Linked DNA regions of Homo sapiens: region 1 is linked to region 2. The links are contacts of gene promoters, found by promoter capture Hi-C in human tissues and cell types (Jung and others, 2019). All regions are on one chromosome and are shown on one strand. Each heading gives the region's core, a stretch centred on a gene start or on the middle of the fragment in contact. The rest is flanking DNA. Distances are from core to core; before and after follow the strand shown. Region 1 overlaps DDIT4 (DNA damage inducible transcript 4). Region 2 holds the start of CHST3 (carbohydrate sulfotransferase 3).

The links. The method cuts DNA at HindIII sites, captures the fragments that hold promoters and counts their contacts. A contact is called where the count stands out against the background at its distance.
Region 1: a fragment that was not itself captured here is called in contact with the fragment with the promoter of CHST3 in region 2 in 1 of the 25 tissues and cell types used here (dorsolateral prefrontal cortex).

What each region holds. Positions count from the first base shown.
Region 1 is chr10:72,275,636-72,278,507 of GRCh38, reverse strand. DDIT4 (DNA damage inducible transcript 4) reads right to left here. Exons shown (of 3, transcript NM_019058.4): 3 at 2,472-2,872. Among named protein-coding and RNA genes, the nearest start is that of DDIT4, 3.1 kb to the right of the region's middle. RefSeq lists an enhancer at 2,418-2,872. The HindIII fragment of the contact is 3,010 bases long and covers 20-2,872 here.
Region 2 is chr10:71,963,143-71,966,148 of GRCh38, reverse strand. CHST3 (carbohydrate sulfotransferase 3) reads right to left here and starts at 1,754. Exons shown (of 3, transcript NM_004273.5): 1 at 1,455-1,754. The HindIII fragment of the contact is 9,967 bases long and covers 1-3,006 here.

The DNA of each region.
Region 1 (2,872 bases), core at 275-2,774, 310 kb before region 2:
AGAGCCATAAAAAGGCTGGAACTTGCTCTAGGCCTTAAAGGAAGGACAGGGCTTGCCAGCAAAACTCAGGAAGATATCCTTGGTGGAAGGCACTAGAATGAGCGGAGTCTGCGGCTAGAGAAAAGGGCAGTCCAGATTGACTTGCCCCCAGTTAAGGGGAATGGTGGGAGGTAAGCCTCAGTAGGGAGTATAGGGCCCAACACCAAATGTCCTAAAAGACCAGCAGTGGAATCTGGCAATAGGGAACCATTGCAGGTTCTAGAGCATTGACCCGATGAGGTGGGAAATAGGAATAAGAGAGGGAATCCTGTAGGAAGGGAGGTAATCAGTACATATTTTCCAGGCCAAATAGGGCAATCTTTTTCCTTTCCTTTCCTTTTTCCTTTCCCCTTTCCTTTCCTTTCTTTTTTTTCTTTCCTTCCTTTCTTTATCAGATAGGGTCTCACTAAATAGGACAATTTCTGAAAGCATTTACCAAAGTTGATTTTATGTGTAGGTCTTTATAAGCTTTCTTAGCTTTCCTGCTTAGCAACAAAGAAGCCTGCCCCATTTTTTCTTAGCAAGTCCGGTACCTGGGGCAAAGCTCCCTGCCATGTCTTAGCAGACCTCAGGACCCAGAACTGTCTTGGGCCTCAGCAACCCTCTTCCCTTTACTGTGAGACTCAAGCTCAGGGCTCCCACTTGCGGACCCTTCTGTCCTGCTGCAGGAGGATTTTCAGGCCCTGTGAGAATGAGGGAAGCCAGTTTGGCTCTGGGAGAGGGCATCTCAGCTGAGCTAGCTTGGGAACCCAAGCTTTGATTTGGCCTCAGTCTGACTATCTAAGAAAAGGTACGGTGCTGGGCTCAGCTGCCTCCTTGGCTTGGAGAAGGGCTAATGCTGACCAATCCATCCAGCTCAGGCCCCCAAATACCAACAAGACTCTGTACTCTGAAGACAATTGTTTCCTTGCTTCTCTTTTGAGACTGGGGAGGCAGGGTCGTGAGCATTGGCACAGATCTCAGTTCCCGGGAAAGTGCCCTTCAGACTCAGCCCAGGTGTCAAGCTTGCTTTACTCCCAGCCCTGAATCTCAATAGGCTGGGAGTGGACAAAGTCAGCCCTTATCCAAGAAGATGACCATTCCAGGGCTTGGGCCTCCATTTACTAATCTGTAAAACATTAAAAACCCCTGCCGCCACCCACCCCTCACAGGGTGGCTATTAGGAGGATGTGCTAAGAAAATGGGTGTGAGGGCTTTCCTCACACTGGTCTGGGCACCTTCTTCACTGTTCTCACTATCCATTTCCAAATGCACTTCTAATCCAAGTTTATCCATTTTGGGGAACAAATCACTCAGTTCTACCAAAGAGAGATGGGTCTTCCAAGTCATCGTAAAGTTTAGGACCCTCTATTGGAATCCCTGATGTAAATGCAGATTCCTGGGGCCCTGGCCCGGATGCACTGAGAATCTCCAGGAGGGCCCATGTGATCTGATTACACACGCTCAAGTGCAAGAGCCACTGTTTTAGTCTTGAGCAAACAAGGCCTGTCTGGGACCAGGAAGAGAAACAAGGGAGATAAAAACTCTCCAAATGCCAGTTGGTGTGGGTGGATGTAATTCCAGGGAAGAAGGGGGAAAGGCCCTGGGCTTCATCTGGCCCAACTCCAATTTGCCAATTTTTCTGACAAGGAACTTAGGGCCCAGAATGCACAATGCATCTTTTGTTTTTAGAGACAGGGTCTTGCTGTCACCCAGGCTGCAGCCTTGAACTCCTGGACTCAAGCAATCCTCTGGCTTCAGCATCCCAAGTGGCTGGGACAACAGGTCACAGAGGACGTCTGGGTGACCCAAGGTATCGTTAAGGTAGGCCTGCTATTTCCTTGCTCTCTAAGCCCTTAGCACTCCTTCCCTCACCTGTGTGTGTGCAAGGAGTTCTGCACCTGCCTGGTCCAGACTTCCTTCCAGTGGCAGCTCATGCCCCTCTTGGTTCCTTGTCCAGTGAGAGGCATGAGCTAAGTAGCATTTTTCAAACTCCCCCTCTTAGTCTTTTTAAATCCAGAGATAAGATTTGTAATTTTCATGATGGTAGAACAACTGATTTTTTTCTCCCAGAAAGAAAAAAGGTATTTTCTAGTTCTTTCACTGTTTATTAAAGACCTTGGGCTCAGTGGGCCCTCCTGTCTGGGCCTTCTAACCGGGGCAGCCAGGTGAGCTCTCCCTCTGGAGACTCTGGCTCGGTGGGAGGTCTGACTCACCCCCTACCTTCAGGGGTTTCCAGTGTGTTCTCCTAGTAGCTTCAGCCAGCACAGGGCCAAGGGTTCTTGGCACAGATGGCACACGGTACACATACCTCTGTCACCAGGCTGGCAGGCAGTCCCGGAAAGGGATGGAGGAACACACAGGTGGACCCCAGGGCCTGATGAGACCTGCCTTTCACTAGCACCCATCTCCCTCCTTTTCACTTCATGGTACTGATGAGAGACTCAACCAACTGTTTTAACAAACATGTTTATTAGAAAAGTAAAAAATATTGCATAGGTCTTAATACTTGAACATCAAGTGTATTCATGAACAGTGAGTATCTTATCTTCATGTAAACAGTTCTAGATGGAAGACCCAGATGGCACTCCTCCCGGGGAGGGGTTCCAGCCCCCACCCTCTCAGCCCCTCCCCTGCCAGCTCAACTCTGCAGTACACGATGGGGGAAGGCTTAAACGCAGCTGCCAGGTGTAATTTTTCAAGTGTCAAAGATCCCAAGTGATCCCTGACACCCACCCCTTCCTACTCTTACATTCATGCGTCTGTAAGATAGCTGCCTACAACAGGTCAGTAGTGATGCTCCGATCAGAAAAACAAGATACAAAACAAACAACAAACACACTTGGTCCCTTCA
Region 2 (3,006 bases), core at 505-3,004:
CACGGCCCATCTCTTTCTCCACTTACCCACCCCTCTTCTCCAGCAGCCAGGAGATGGGAGGGTTGATGGAACCAACCCCTCTCTCTGCTGCAGATCTAAAGTTATTCTTCAATTGAGACCCCACAGAATCTGCCAAACAGCCTGCCATCTACCAAAACCCACATCAACCCCATCTTAGCCAGATACAGAAATGAAGCTTTTCCTGCTGCCCTCTTAGAGGGGCAGAGGCCAATGATGAGCTCCAGTCTCCCAAGGCCAGCCCACGGGACACAGTGGAACACACAGTGCCTGGGCCACTGGCCCAAGCAGATCAGGCAGGGCTCCTAGGAGCTACTCAGGCCCCCTTCTCTGCTGGAAAATCAATTTCAACCCAGCAGAGGCCCACTGGCCTTGCCGCACAGTGAGTCCATAATGAATGATAATTACCGGTGTCATTATTCATCAAGCAAGTACTGACTGAGTGCCCACTGTGCCAGGCACTATGCTAGGCCCAGGACAATCCCCCGTACATCCTGGGGCCCAGCAACACCACGCATCAGAAACCAAACACAACTTCAGGTGCAAGGAAAATAATGAAGGCGTCAGGCCTGCCTTGGTTTCTCCCTAACCTTTTAGGCTTAAATCCCCCCACCTCCCCTTACCCCGTCCACACCCAGGACTGGAATCTGCTCACCCGGTTCCCTTGGAAGTCCCTGGAGGAAGCACATCCGCTGGGGGGAAGGGTCCCTGCTTCCCTGGAAGACTGTCACGGCCACTACCCTTCTGTCTAGCGCAGCAACGGCCTGCCAGCCTCTTCCACGCTGCTCACAGACCCTGGCACGCCGGCTCTGAGTTTATGAATCACTCCCTCCTCTCTCCGGGCCTCGCCTCCGGAAGGGCTTCGCACACTCACACATCACCCAGACACCGAGTTTCCACACCAAATTCGCTCCTGCAGAACTCCGAGAACCGACTGCAACATCTGCTCCCCTTGGTCTCGGGGTTCTGGCCACAAGTTTTCAAAACCCAGGCAGCCTCTCTCCTGCCCGCTGCGCTTTGGGGGCTCCCTCTCCTTGGGGGCTGCGGGGGCAGCAGACAAAGGCCGTGGATGTGACGGAGGGGTGTGAGGACGTGCCTGCTGTAGAGGCCAAATCCCCCGCGCTCCCAGGAATGTGCATTTCGGTGTGTGGCATGTGCCTGGCCGGTGTGGGTGTGCGCAGATCAGCCTGCGCCGTGTGCGGGGTATGAGTGGCGATGAGCTGTGTGTACCTGGCAGGTGTGATCCGGTTGCAGCGGGTTGTGGGTGCCTGCCTGGGCTTTTCCCCGAGCTGGGAACTCCACCTCCCACCGTCCGCTTCGCCCCCTTCTCCCTCCAAAGTCTGGCGCGCGCGCCTGGACGCGGAAGGCGGGGGCTCCCGGCTGGGCGGCCTCCCCCGGGCTGGGCGGCGGTTCCAGGACGCCGGCGCCCCACTTACCCCGGCCGCCGAGACTCCACCGGCGGCCCCGACCCTCCGCGGCTGGGGTCCGGCGCGGGCAGCATCCGCTCGCAACTTCGCTTTCCTCCTGGAAGATCCCGGCAGAAGCGGTTCCGCGGCCCCGGCGCCCGCGCGGCCCGAGCTGTGCGTCTTCTCCGGGGCGGGCCGGAGGGATGGAGGCGCTGCGGGGCCGGTCGGCACGCTGGAAGGGAAGCGGCGCCAGGCGGGCGCCGTCCTGCGCAGCGAGCCTGCGAGAGGTCCTGCCTGGCGCCCTCCCCGCTCAGGCCCGAGCCGGCTAGCGGCGGCGGATTCCTGAACCGCGTCCAAGGCGTCCGGGAGCCCTTCTCCTCCTCCTCCTCCTCTTCCTCACCCCACCCAGCTCCCACCCCTGCGCGCCCGGCAACTTGGGAACCGTTGGCGAAGTTGGCGCTGCTCGGGCCGCGAGCCGGCCGGGCCTCTGGGGGAGGAAGGGGAGGAGAAGGAGGAGCTGGCGGGAGAGGAGAGGAGGGGAGAGAGGGGAGAGAGGGGAGCCGCCCCCGGGGAGCCGCTGTCTCCAGGACCCCTCTGCGGGCCTTTGTTCCGGGCGCTGCCCCTCGGCCCTCCAGTCCCCGGGGACTCGCTTGGGGCCGCTCGGGTATCCACGCTCTCCTGGCGAGGCTGGTGGGTGGAGGCTGCTTGGAGAACCCCCTTGGCTTCTCCGTGCCGGAGCGCCCGGGGCCGTTACGGCCGCCCCCTCCCCCGACCTTTGCCAGGGAGACCCTCTGGCTGCACGGGTTCCCCATCATCTCTGCCCGGAGAGGATCTTCCTGCTCCCCCCTGGGGCAAGTGGGCTGGAGGACGGTTTCCCTGGTTCCAAAGAACAGAGCACCGTCTCCCTGGGCGGCAGCAGGTCCCACATCCGCCCTCCTGCACTTTCCTGCGCCGCCAGCCAGTCCAAGGCTCCCCTAATTCAAGAACTGGGAAACGGGAGGGACAGAGGGTCTTCCCGGCCCGCCAGGGCTGCCTGGCATTATCTTCGGACCCTCCCAGGCAGCTGGGTCTCCGGCCGGGCTGCCAGGCAAGTGGGGTCCCAGTCGCCTCCCGTGCATGGCGTGGTCGGCTGGGCAGCACCGGCTGCGGGGTGCAAAGGCCAGCTTCTCGAGGGATGAGGTAAAGGGCTCAGAACTGGAACACAAACCGAACCTCCCTGTTCCTTTCCGAATCCTGGTGATGGCCCTGTCCCCGAGAAGGCGAGAACGTCTTGGATTCCACTTGCTGGGCATTCCTCCTGGGACTTCCAGTACGTAACGTCATGAGCTAATTCAGGCCTAAGACAGCACTCCTGACATTTAATGGGATAGTATGGGGTTTAGACAATAAGTTATTTCCTGTACAGGAGAAGTAGGAAAATCCAAAAAAGCTAAAACCTGATTATCTACACTTGGCCTCCCTCTGCCATTCTCAGCATTTACAGATGGACAGCAAATAGAGAACCAGATAGAACTAATCCTGACCCTGTTAGGGACAAGTTGCCCCAGGAACCCCCCGCCCCACACACAATGCAGCTGACCCT